Regions from separate parts of the Homo sapiens genome. Here all the other regions are linked to region 1. The links are contacts of gene promoters, found by promoter capture Hi-C in human tissues and cell types (Jung and others, 2019). All regions are on one chromosome and are shown on one strand. Each heading gives the region's core, a stretch centred on a gene start or on the middle of the fragment in contact. The rest is flanking DNA. Distances are from core to core; before and after follow the strand shown. Region 1 holds the start of ZNF69 (zinc finger protein 69). Region 2 overlaps ZNF791 (zinc finger protein 791). Region 3 has its middle 13 kb from the start of ZNF709.

The links. Contacts are between HindIII fragments. The study calls those that stand out against the background at their distance.
Region 2: a fragment that was not itself captured here is called in contact with the fragment with the promoter of ZNF69 in region 1 in 1 of the 25 tissues and cell types used here (dorsolateral prefrontal cortex).
Region 3: a contact is called between a fragment that was not itself captured here and the fragment with the promoter of ZNF69 in region 1, in 3 of the 25 tissues and cell types used here (bladder, hippocampus and mesendoderm cells).

The regions. Positions count from the first base shown.
Region 1 is chr19:11,885,669-11,890,008 of GRCh38, forward strand. ZNF69 (zinc finger protein 69) reads left to right here and starts at 2,114. Exons shown (of 4, transcript NM_001364730.1): 1 at 2,114-2,318. The coding sequence starts at 2,256. RefSeq lists an enhancer at 2,311-2,360. The HindIII fragment of the contact is 10,336 bases long and covers 912-4,340 here.
Region 2 is chr19:12,628,309-12,632,648 of GRCh38, forward strand. It overlaps ZNF791 (zinc finger protein 791), which reads left to right. Exons shown (of 4, transcript NM_153358.3): 4 at 1-4,340. The coding sequence ends at 952. Among named protein-coding and RNA genes, the nearest start is that of ZNF791, 20 kb to the left of the region's middle. The HindIII fragment of the contact is 6,065 bases long and covers 1-4,340 here.
Region 3 is chr19:12,495,353-12,499,692 of GRCh38, forward strand. No RefSeq gene overlaps it. Among named protein-coding and RNA genes, the nearest start is that of ZNF709, 13 kb to the left of the region's middle. RefSeq lists enhancers at 1-50, 51-930, 192-271 and a silencer at 1. The HindIII fragment of the contact is 4,297 bases long and covers 278-4,340 here.

The DNA of each region.
Region 1 (4,340 bases), core at 864-3,363:
AATGAATTAGCTAAAATTTCTGGAGTCAATGACCCTATTTCAAGATGGCTAGGAAAGTAGTTCAGTCAATAAAGAATCATAGCCTCAATACTTATTTCTTTTACAGTCGTAACAGGTGTACTTATTCTTGTTAGGCGTTGTGTCATACCATGCATCCGTAGGCTAATACAAAGGATTGTACGAACAGCATTTACTGAAACCTCCCTTAGTTCTCCTCCACCTTATTCAAGTAAGCTTTTCCTTTTAAAAGATCAAATCAAACAGCAAAGCCAAAACACGTTAAAAAAGTTTAAAGAGAAAAAATCATAAGAAAATTAAAAGGGAGGAATTGTAACATACAGTAAATTTCTCTGAGTTTCTTTTTTTTTTTTTTTTTGAGACGGAGTCTCACTCTGTCACCCAGGCTGGAGTGCAGTGGCGTGATCTCGGCTCACTGCAAGCTCTGCCTCCTGGGTTCATGCCATTCTCCTGCCTCAGCCTCCCGAGTAGCTGGGACTACAGGCGCCCACCACCACGACTGGCTAATTTTTCGTATTTTTTAGTAGAGACGGGGTTTCACCATGTTAGCCAGGATGGTCTCGATCTCCTGACCTCGTGATCTACCCGCCTCAGCCTCCCAAAGTGCTGCGATTACAGGCGTGAGCCACCGCGCCTGGCCTCTCTGAGTTTCTCTTCAAAGACTTAGCCTGCTAACTTCCTTGTCTTTTGTTCTCCAGCTCAACTTTCCTGTTCCTCCTTGCCCCTAGTTACTGTAAAACAGCCTACCCCCTTCCCGTCAGCTCTAATCAATAACTCACATCTGTTCCCTTGGTTACCTGTACCCATTGTTCCCCCGAAACTGCACGTCTCACACGCTCCATCTCTGTACCTCACGTTCCCCTCTCCTTCTATATTTAGAAAAATACGTACAAGTAGCCAGTCGGGTCAGCTCAGATTGTGTGGTCGAACCCCAGCCCATGAAGGAGTGACACAGAGATAGGGACCGCATTAAGGATAAAAAAACCCCCGGTGACCTTTGTTCTCTGTGCTCTTGTGATCTTGATTGACACAAGTGGCACACTTCTGCAGAAGTAAATTGCCTTGCTAAACAAATGAAACTTTCCCCTAAGTGCTAGTTTTACTTCGTGGGACCAAGAATTTATTCCTAAAGCATTTTATATCCGACAGAGATATTCATATATATAAAGAAAATGTGGGCCAGGCGCGGTGGCTCACGCCTGTAATCCCAGCACTTTGGGTGGCCGAGGCGGGTGGATCACTTGAGGTCAGGAGTTCAAGACCAGTCTGGTCAACATGGTGAAACCTTGTCTCTACTAAAAATACAAAAAATTAGCCAGGCGCGGTGGCATGTGCCTGTAATCCTAGCTGCTGGGGAGGCTGAGGCAGGAGAATCACTTGAACCCAGGAGGCGGAGGTTGCAGTGAGTGGAGATTGCACCACTGCACTCCAGCCTGGGGGGACAGAGCGAGGCTCTGTCTCAAAAAAAAAAGAAAAGAAAATGTGTGAAGATCAGGCTAGAGACAGAAATGTTTGGGAGCGTCACCTGGATAAAGGGTTCATGAAGTTGGCAGTTTATTTAGGTCAAAAGCTTAACTTAACCCCTGGAGAGAGTTTCCTGCTGGTGAAAATGAAGATCTGGAAGGAGGAAGCATTTTCACACTGTGAGGAGGGGATGGGGGTGTGAGAGCAAGTCTTAGCCATGCCTCATCCCCAGTTGCGGCCCGCTCCAAGACATATGCCTCTCCTCCTGGCGCAGTCGTGTCTGGCCTGGTCTCGGTTCCCCTGCTGCTCTGAGGCAGGAGATGGCTCCTGTGGACACTGAATCTGAAATTCCCTGCACACTCCTGTGACCCCATGCAGAACGAAGGAGCAGGGACAGTCCCTTGAGTGAGGAAGACGCTAGTGTTCTCCTCTATCAATAGCAAGTTTGGCTGAAATGCAAATATCCAATAACCAGAGTGCAGGAAGGAGCTCGCCCTTGGAAAAGCTGTGGTCAGAATCCGTCTGTCTGGCTCTGCAGGGCCCGATACCCAGGGCTTCCGCTGTCACTCAGACATGGGGGGCGGGGCCTAGCATTCCATCCAATCAGAGGCATTGTGGCGGGTCCCTGCCCACTGTTCCTCCAGACACTGAGGGGGTCGCATTCCTTACCTCACCTTTGTCCCTGCGCGGGCTGCGGCTGGGATCCGGTCTTTCCAGCCCCGAGAGGGACCTGGTTCCTCTGCCCAGGCTTCTGTCACTCTGTCACCTACGCTATGCCCTGCTGTAGTCACAGGAGGTGTAGAGAGGACCCCGGGACATCTGAAAGCCAGGAAATGGTGCGTGTCTGGGGCCGGGTGTCGTGAGACGGGGGAGGGGCTGCCTGGACCGACCGGAACCGACTGTGGCGAGACCCTGGCTTTCCTGCGGGCGACTTTGGGATCTGGGACCGAGTCCTCCTGGAGCCGCTCGGCCCTCGGTCCCCTCGACTGCTCGGTGTGGCTGGGCCGGTAGCCGGGACACCAGGCGTCCTGTCTCGTCTCTGCGCGGCGACTGCGGTTCCAGAGCCCTCTATGGGCAGCTCCGCGCCCGCAGCCACGCGTCTACCCAGATTGTGCGGGGGCCACGGGAGGGTCATGTGGGTGATCCCGACTCGGGTGTGGGGTTCGTGCTTGGGAGGAGCAGCGGTCTGTGGGGCCCCCAGTGTCCACTTTTTCTCCTGTTAAAAATTAAACTGAGGAACGTTAACAAAGAGTTCATTTGAGCAAACAGCGATTCACGAATGAGACACACCCAGTCCTGGCTTGTGGTTTGTCAACGGAAAAAGCCAAACTATGTAAAATAAAGAAGTTTATTCGGAGCCGAATAGGAGAGACCTTGGCCGAGGGAAAAACAACCCCAAGAAGCCTGGAGTAAGTGGTCCCGAGGCGGCTCAAGACAGTTTGGTTTTATTCATTTTAGAGAGACAGGAATTGCAGGGAAAATCATGAATTAGTGCCTGGAAGGTGTAATTTCCTTAGGCAGAAAGGGAGGGACCTGGCCGGGCACGGTGGCTCACGCTTGTAATTCCAGCACTTTGGGAGGCCAAGGCGGGCGGATCACCTGAGGTCAGGAGTTCAAGACCAGCCTGGCCAACATGGTGAAACCCCGTCTCTACTAAAAATATAAAAAAGAAACTAGCCGGGCGTGATGGTGGACGCCTGTAATCCCAGCTACTCGGGAGGCTGAGACAAGAGAATTACTTGAATCCAGGAGACAGGTTGCAGTGAGCCCACACAGTGCCACTGCACTCCAGCCTCAGCACAGAGTGCGACTCTGTCTCAAAACAAAAACAAAAACAAAAAACAGAAAGGGCGGGACCTGTGGAAGGGGGGTTAGAAGGCACAGGTGGTTGAGGGATTCTGTAGGTGGCAGCTGGTTGAGAGTGTGAAGCTTTGTCTAAAGTTTGGAGGAGGTAGGAAGGAATGCTGAAGGAAGGGGGTCTGTTATCTGCCACTTGATTCCATCCCAGCCAAAAAACAGACCTGTTTCTCTAGATTTTATGAATTCTAAGGTGTGACTTACCCTTGTCTTGCGTGGCCTTAGGTCTTGTTTGTAATTTGGTATCTTCTTGCCACAAGGAGTCTGTTTTTCCAGTCAGATAATGTCTGTTTTTACATGAATGTGCGTCAGTTGCTGCATGTAAACTCCTAAAGGGAGAGGGTATAAGGAGGCCTGTCTCACCTCCCATCCTGTCATACAGAGGCACTCAATTTTCAGGGTTTTTTGGGGGTTCCCTTGGCCAAGAGCCGGTCACTTCACTTACCTGGGAAGGTACTTTGTTTTTGTTTTTATTTAAAACAGAGTCTCCTTCTGTCACTCAGGCTGGAGTGCAATGGCTCAATCTCGGCTCACTGCAACCTCCACCTTCCGGATTCAAGCAATTCTCTAGCCTCAGCCTCCTGAGTAGCTGGGATTACAGGCACGCACCTGAAGGGGGCCTGCCCCTCCACCCCTGTGGGTGTTTCTTGTCAGGTAGAGACAAGAGACTGAGTAAAGAAATAAGACACAGAGACGAAGTATAGGGAAAGAACAGTGGGCCCAGGGGACCGGCGCTCAACATGCGAGGACCTGCACCGGCGCTGGTCTCTGAGTTCCCTCAGTATTTATTGATCACTATTTTTACTATCTTGGCGAGGGGAGTGTGGCAGGACAACAGGGTGATGGTGGGGAGAAGGTCAGCAGGGAATCATGTGAGCAAAGGAACCTGTATCATGAATAAGTTCAAGGAAAGATACTGTGCCTGGATGTGCAGGTAGGCCAGATTTATGTTTCACTTTATGCAAATATCTCAGTGTAGCAAAGAGTAACAGAGCAGTATT
Region 2 (4,340 bases), core at 550-3,049, 740 kb after region 1:
AACACACATGATAACACACAACGGAGATAGACCTTATAAATGCAAAGAATGTGGAAAGGCATTCATTTTTCCCAGTTTTTTACGAGTACATGAAAGAATTCACACTGGAGAGAAACCCTATAAATGTAAACAATGTGGTAAAGCCTTCAGATGTTCCACCTCCATTCAAATTCATGAAAGAATTCATACTGGAGAGAAGCCCTATAAATGTAAAGAATGTGGGAAATCTTTCAGTGCACGCCCAGCCTTTCGAGTACACGTGAGAGTGCATACTGGAGAGAAACCCTATAAGTGTAAAGAATGTGGGAAAGCCTTTAGTAGAATCAGTTACTTTCGAATACATGAAAGGACTCACACTGGAGAGAAACCCTACGAATGTAAAAAATGTGGGAAAACTTTCAATTATCCTCTAGATTTGAAAATCCACAAGAGAAATCACACTGGAGAAAAACCCTATGAGTGTAAGGAATGTGCAAAAACCTTCATTTCTCTTGAGAACTTTCGAAGACACATGATCACCCACACTGGAGACGGACCTTATAAATGTAGGGACTGTGGGAAGGTGTTCATTTTTCCTAGTGCGTTACGAACACATGAAAGAACTCACACTGGAGAGAAACCCTATGAATGTAAACAATGTGGAAAAGCCTTTAGTTGTTCTAGTTACATTCGGATACATAAAAGAACTCACACTGGGGAGAAACCTTATGAATGTAAGGAATGCGGGAAGGCCTTTATTTATCCCACAAGCTTTCAAGGACACATGAGAATGCATACTGGAGAGAAACCCTATAAATGTAAAGAATGTGGGAAGGCCTTTAGTCTTCACAGTTCCTTTCAAAGACATACAAGAATTCACAATTATGAGAAACCTCTTGAATGTAAGCAATGTGGAAAAGCCTTCAGTGTGTCCACATCCTTAAAAAAACATATGAGAATGCACAATCGATAGAAACTCTATAAATGTGAGAAATAGGAGAAAGTTTTCAATTCTAACAGATGCTTTCAAAGTTGTGAAAATTCCCACTGAAGAGAGAAATCCTGTCAATGTAAGTAATATAGAAAGCGAGATACAAGATGATTCATGTATAGTCAGGTACCACATAATCATGTTTCAGTCAGCAATGGACCATATAGGTTGGTAGCCCCATAAGATTATATAACACCTAAAACATTTCTATCAACCGCAATTTAGTAGCAGTAGTAACACCATAGTGCAGCACATTATTTAAGTGTTTATGGTGCTGGTGTAAACGTGCTGCACTTTCAGTTGTATAAAAGTACAAGACAGCGGCCGGGGACGGTGGCTCACGCCTGTAATCCCAGCACTTTGGGAGGCCAAGGCGGGCGGATCACGAGGCCAGGAGATCAAGACCATCCTGGCTAACACGGTAAAACCCCATCTCTACTAAAAATACAAACAATTAGCCGGGCGTGGTGGTGGGCGCCTGTAGTCCCAGCTACTTGGGAGGCTGAGGCAGGAGAATGGCATAAACCCAGGAGGCCGAGCTGACAGTGAGCTGAGATCCGGCCAACAGAGCGAGACTCTGTCTCAAAAAAAAAAAAAAAAAAAAAGTACAACACAGCTGGGCATGGTCACACCTGTGATCCCAACACTGGGAGACTAAGGCAGTAGGATTGCTTGATGCCAGGACTACTCTGGTCAACCTAGTGAGACCCTGTCTCTACAAAAAATAAAAACATTTTCTAAGTGTGGTAGCACACCCTGTAGTCCCATCTACATGGGAGGCTGAGGCAGGAGGATTGCCTGAGCCCAGGAGTTCAAGGCTACAGTGAACCAAGATCACGTGATGGCAGTCCAGCATGGGTGACAGTGAGACTGTATCAAAAAAAAAAAAAAAAAATTGGCTGGGCACAGTGGCTCATACCTGTAATCCCAGCACTTTGGGAGGCTGAGGTGGGAGAATCAGTTGAGGTCAGGAGTTCAAGACCAGCCTGGTCAACATGATGAAACCCTGTCTCCATTAGAAATACGAAAATTAGCTGGGCGTTCTGGTGTGCCTGTAGTCCCAGCTACTTGGGAGGCCAAAGCAGGAGAATCGCTTGAACCCGGGAGGTGGAGATTGCAGTGAGCTGAGATCTACCACTACACTCCAGCCTGGGTGACAGAGCGAGACTCCGTCTCGAAAAAAAAAAAATTACAGCACAGATGTGCAATATATACTTGATAATAAATGGCTAAGTTACTGGTTTATATATTTACAATCCTGTTTTAGAATGTATTCCTGTGTTTTTTTAACAGTAAGACAGTCTCAGGCAGGTCCTTAAGGAGATATTCCCGGAAAAACTTTGTTATGATAGGCGATGACGGCTCCATGTGCAGGACTGCCCCTGAACGTATTCTGGCGGGACAAAACATGGAGGCAGAAGACAATGATATTGATGATCCTCACCCCGTGTAGTCCTACACTAATGTGTGTTTGTGTCTTAGTTAGTCTTTAACAAAAATAGTTTAAAAAAATTTAATAGAAAAAGCTTATAGAATATGGACATAAAATATTTTTGTACAGCTGTACAATGTGTTTTAAGCTAAATTATTACAAAGTTTTTAAAAATAAGTTTATAAAGAAAATAATGTACAGTAAGTTAAGGTTTATTCATTATTGAGGAAAAAATGTTTTTATGAATGTAGTGTAGTCCAAGTGTACAGTGTTTATAAATTCTCCATTAGTGTACAGTAACATCCTGGGCCTTCGCATTCACTCACCACTCAACTGACTCACCCAGAGCAACTTCTAGTCCTGCAAGCTATGTTCATGGAGTGTCCTATGCAGGTGCATCCTTTTTTATCTTTTATACTGCATGTTTACTCTGTGTATTTTCTGTGTTTAGACTCATAAATACTTAACATTTTGTTACAATTTCCTACAGTGTTCAGTACAACAACATGTTGTATGGTTTATAGCCTAGTAGCAATAGACTGTACCATATAGTCTAGATGTGTTGTAGCTATACCATCTAGATTTGTGTAAGTTCACTTTGTGATGTTTGTACCATGAGGAAATCACCTACAACACGTTTCTCAGAACATATACCCATGATTAAGCAATCTCTGCCTGTAAAATGCTCCAGAAAATTCACACCATGATATAAATTCATCACACACGATATAAAAGTTAAGGCAAGGCATGGTGGCTCATGCCTGTAATCCCAGCACTTTGGGAGGCCAAGGCAGGCAGATCACCTGAGGTCAGGAGTTCGAGACCAGCCTGGCCAAGACGGTGAAACCCCATCTCTACTAAAAATACAAAAATTACCTGAGCGTGGTGGCATGCACCTGTAATTCCAGCTACTTGGGAGGCTGAAGCAGGAGAATCATTTGAACCTGGGAGGTGGAGGCTGCAGTGAGCTGAGATTGTGCCACTACACTCCAGCCTGGGCAACAGAGCAAGACTCCATCCCACACACCAAAAAAAAGTTAAAAATTTTTTATCACTGGCTCATTCTTCAAGTACATCTCTGGACTATGAATTGTAACTTAACTACTTTTCCAAGAAGTCTTGGAAGTGAGATAATTCTGTAAGTACTCTTTAAGCAGTGGTCAAAAGTTTAAAAGGTTGTGTTTTCTCATTAAATCAGTTAGTAAAACTTTTCTCTTTCTCTTGATGTCTTGATTCATGAGTAAACTGAAGTGTATTTTTTTTTTTTCGAGACGGAGTCTTGCTCTGTTGCCCAGGCTGGAGTTCAGCGGTGTGATCTCGGCTCACTGCAAGCTCCGCCTCCCGGGTCCACGCCATTCTCCTGCCTCAGCCTCCCCAGTAGCTGGGACTGCAGGCGCCCGCCACCATGCCCAGCTAATTTTTTTTGTATTTTTAGTAGAGATGGGGTTTCACCGTGTTAAGCCAGGATGGTCTCAATCTCCTGACCTCGTGATTCGACCGCCTCAGCCTCCCAAAGTGCTGGGATTACAAGCTTGAGCCACCGCACCCGGCCTGAAGTGTATTTTTTTTTTCTTTTAAAGACCAGTGTTAGTAGAAGTGTATTTTTAATATACAATTAGTTTTAATTTGTGTATAGTTTTTCAGTTGTTCTCTGAATAAAGAGATTGTTGAATACTGACACACTGTAACTAGGATTTTTCCTACTGGCCTCATGTGGAAGGTGGTGCATATATTACCCATTATATATTTATTTCACCTTTTCCGAAAAACTGCTTTTTAAATTTCTTGGCCAGACACGGTGGCTCACTCCTTTGTAATTCCAGCACTTTGGGAAACCAAGGCAAGCAGATCACTTGAGGTCAGGAGTTCGAGACCAACCTGGCCAACATGGTGAAATCCCATCTCTACTAAAAATACAAAAATTAGCTGGGCATGTTG
Region 3 (4,340 bases), core at 1,176-3,675, 610 kb after region 1:
ACTGTCCAATTGGAGACGCCGCCGGAGCGGTGGGTGGGGCCGCCCTGTACAAAGGCGCGTGGATACGGTGGCGCGATTTCCAGTTTGTGTCTCTCCTGCCTCGAACGTCGCTAGGTGGCTCTGCCGCAGCCTCTGTCGCTCTGGGACCCGCACTGGCAGAGGGAGTCGTAGTTAGGGGGTGGGGACACCGCGGAAGCCCGGAAATGGTGACTGTGCGGGGCCTGGAATCCCGAGACCTGAAGAGCTGCTGGCCGGAACCGGCTGTCGCGGGAACCGGGCCTGCCCGCGGCCACTCCTGGGTCTGTGAACCCGAGTCCCCCTGGCGTAGCTCGGCCCTCGGCCTCCTCCCGCCGCAGAGTGAAGCTGGGCCGGCAGCCAGGATCCCGGGAGTCCTGTCCTGTCCCCGCGCGGCTACTGAGGCCCGGGTCCCGGAGCCCTGTGTGGGCAGCTCCATGCCCGTAGCCCCGCGTCTTCCAAGATTGTGTGGGGATCACGGGAGGGTCATAGGAGAGAAGGAATCCCGGCTCGAGTGTGGCGTTCGTGCGTGGGAGGAGCGGTGGTCCGTGGGGTCCCCAGTCTCTTCTTTTTCCCCAGGGGGACCGGTTTGCCCCTTAATTTTACAAACGTGTGAAAACAGGATCTCAAATCCACGACCCCGTTTTCCAGCCTAGCTCTTCCTAGGACTGACAGGAAATCCCTAAATTTGCCAATTCCTTCTTTCATTCCAAATGAAGCTTTCCCTCTCCAATTCATAATATTATTATTTGCCCTGTTAAATACAATTTGTAGGAAGCCATTGGTTTAGACTGAGCTCCTGCACTAGACCCAACAGACCAAACCAAAATGAGTTACCCACGGGGACGTTCCTCGCTACCAAGCTGAAACTAAGTTGTTTATCTGACCTTACAAATTATCAGGAGAGAAAGAGATGCTGGTCAAATCCCCAACAGGCCAGTTTTAGCCAACATGATAAAGAAAGTCCCCTCTGCTTTAACTTTTACCAGAAAAGCAACTTTGAAAGTTCCCGTCTTTCAACTGGGCGTGATGGCTCACGCCTGTAATCCCAGCACTTTGGGAGGCCGAGGTGGGTGGATCATTTGAGGTCAGGAGTTCGAGACCAGCCTGGCGAACATGGTGAAACCCTCGTCTCTACTAAAAATACAAAAATTAGCTGCATGATGGCCTGTGCTTGTAGTCCCAGCTACTCAGGGGGCTGAGGTGGGAGGCTCACTTAAGCCCAAGCCCTGGAGGTCGAGGCTGCGGTGAGCTATGATCTCGCCACTGCGCTACAGCCTGGGTGACAGAGGGAGACCCTGTCTCAAAAAAATAAACATCAATAGCGGTTGAAAGCCCCATGACTGGGGAGCAGCAGCCAGAGACTAGTGACTTCAAGCTAAGACCACTCTTGAGCCTGCAAAGGGAGGTCATTGAAAGCCCAGATGGGTCTTCCTGGGGAGCCTTCCCCAAAAGTGTCCTACTTGCTCTCACCCACCAAGGAAAGAGCTCTTTATACAGAGAGAAGCTACAGAGCACTGGAATGCTGGGAACCGCACGCGGTTTTAGGAGAACCGGGAGGGTTTTAATTGTCTAGGTTGTAATTGTAGTTTCCTTGGGTCTACTTTTAGACATTAGGTTTGAGTTTTGCTTTCACATTAGGGTACACTCGTGGTGTAATTTTTCCATATTGAAAAAGTCTGTGAAAGTTACAAGTTCTGTCTCCTGGACATGGTGTTAATGACTTTGGGAGTTCATTTGTGTCAGAACCTTCATCTGAATCCAGCTGACAGTTTCGTCACTTACGAGAACCAGTGGGAAGGGGCATTCTCTGCTCCCGGAGTTCATTCCTGTGGCTGCTCAGGTGTCCCTGCTGTCACCAGGGACTATTCCACTCTAGGGACTATACCCTAACAGGGAGAGAGTGTGGACTCCAAGCTTTGGTATGTGTTTAACCTTCTGGATGTTGGTTTTTCTTCTGAATTGCGGAGAAGCAGGCTGCTTATCTGAGCTGATTCAATGTTTGTGTTTCTTTCCTTTGGATTCCTTTTTCTATTGAATATTGCAGCACTTTAACTCCAGTTTCCTTTAACATTTTGTAATTTTATTCCCTGTATGAGTCTGTAGGATTTTTAGTTTGTTGGTCTTTGAAAATTTAAGTTGATTGAGAAATATGATGTAAGAGAAGCAAATCCTGGAACCAAATAGAATTTTTATTCCTTTCAGGCAAAAGAAGCTCATGGTGTGAGATGGATATGTTTAACTTCTCAGGTGCATTTTTATTTTTACATTAGTTTGTGTGTGTGCATATCCCTAGAAAACTTTCAAACTTCAAAGGCTCTACTATTCCCAGGGCAAATGGATTCCTGTTTTAATTGATACGAGGAAAACTACTCCTCAAAGCTTGTGTAATCTTTGAAAAATTCTACTACATTTAATGGTTATATCCAAACCCTAATGTATTATAATATGCTACTCTTTTTTTGAGACTGAGTCTTGCTCTGTTGCCCAGGCTGGAGTGCAGTGGCGCCATCTCGGCTCACTGCAAGCTCCACCTCCCGGGTTCACGCCATTCTCCTGCCTCAGCCTCCCGAGTAGCTGGGACTACAGGTGCCCATCACCACGCCTGGCTAATTTTTTTGTATTTTTAGTAGAGCTGGGGTTTCACCATGTTAGCCAGGATGGTCTCGATCTCCTGACCTCGCGATCCGCCCGCCTCGGCCTCCCAAAGTGCTGGGATTACAGGCGTGAGCCACCGCGCCCAATCTATAATATGCTACTCTTTCCTGAAAATACCCCTCAGTGTGAGATACAGTGGACAGACATGCTATGATGCAGATTCTCTTAAGATTTGAAATTTTACATTTCGTATAGTTTACACTTTTAAAAGTGTATAAAGGATTAAATCTTAATGAAGACAACTTAAAATTTAAAAAAAACTACATTATTTAAAGACTTTAATAGTAAAATATAGTGCAGATAAATATCTTCGTTCATTTTATTTTTTTATTTTTTATTTTTTTTGAGACGGAGTTTTACTCTTGTTGCCCAGGCTGGAGTGCAATGGCACAATCTTGGCTCACAGCAACCTCCACCTCCCAGGTTCAAGTGATTCTCCTGCCTCAGCCTCCCGAGTAGCTGGGATTACAGGCATGTGCCACCATGCCCAGCTAATCTTTTTGTATTTTTAGTAGAGATGGGGTTTCTCCATGTTGGTCAGGCTGGTCTCGAACTCCTGACCTCAGGTGATCTGCCTGCCTCGGCCTCCCAAAGTGCTGGGATTACAGGCGTGAGCCACCGTGCCCGGCCTTTTTAATGTATATTTTTAGACAGGGTCTTGCTCTGTCACCCAGGATGGAGTACAGTGGCACGATCGATCATAGCTCACTGCAGCCTCAGCCTCCCCTGCTCAAGTGATCCTCCCAACTCAGCCTCCTGAGTAGCTGGAACTACAGGCACATACCACCATGCCTGGCTAATTTTTGTATTTTTTGTAGAGGCAGGGTTTCACCAACCGGCAGGGTTGCCCGGGCTGGTCTTGAACTCTTGAGTTCAAGTGATCCTCCTAGCTCGGCCTCCCAAAGTGCTGGGATTACAAGTGTGAGCCACTGCACCAGGCCTCCATTCATTTTAGAGAGATAATACATGTGAAGGTTAAAAAAAAAAATCTATGAGACAGGAAAATCTAACATAAGACTCACTGTCAAGCATATCCTGGTTCATTCCAGGATTCTTGCTCCAGCCACCCCGCCCTTCGTAAAAACTTTTGGTAATTCCTTGTGCATCCTATTAGTGTTTCTTTATTAAAACAAGCAATTGCAGGCCAGGCGCGGTGGCTCACACCTGTATTCCCAGCACTTTGGGAGGCCGAGGCAGGCGGATTACCTGAGGTCTGGAGTTCGAGACCAGCCTGACCAACATGGAGAACCCTTGTCTCTACTAAAAATACAAAATTAGCTGAGCGTGGTGGCGGGTGCCTGTAGTCCCAGCTACTCAGGAGGCGGGCGCCTGTAGTCCCAGCTACTCGGGAGGCTGAGGCAGGAGAATCACTAGAACCCAGGAGACTGAGGTTGTGGTAAGCTGAGATTACGCTATTGCACTCCAGCCTGGGCAACAAGAGTGAAACTCCGTCTCACACAACAACAACAACAAAAACAAGCAATTGCAAATGCATGTTTTTCTTATCCATGTTTGCTCTTGTAATGAGTAGTTGGACTCCACCCTTTCTGGTATTTGACTGTTGGCAGATTCAGTGTCAACCCCCCTCTTCTTTCTAACAGCTGCCCACTGTCAATGGAATCACCAAACTCTCAAATATTTTAAGGCTTTATTCTGAGTCAGTATGA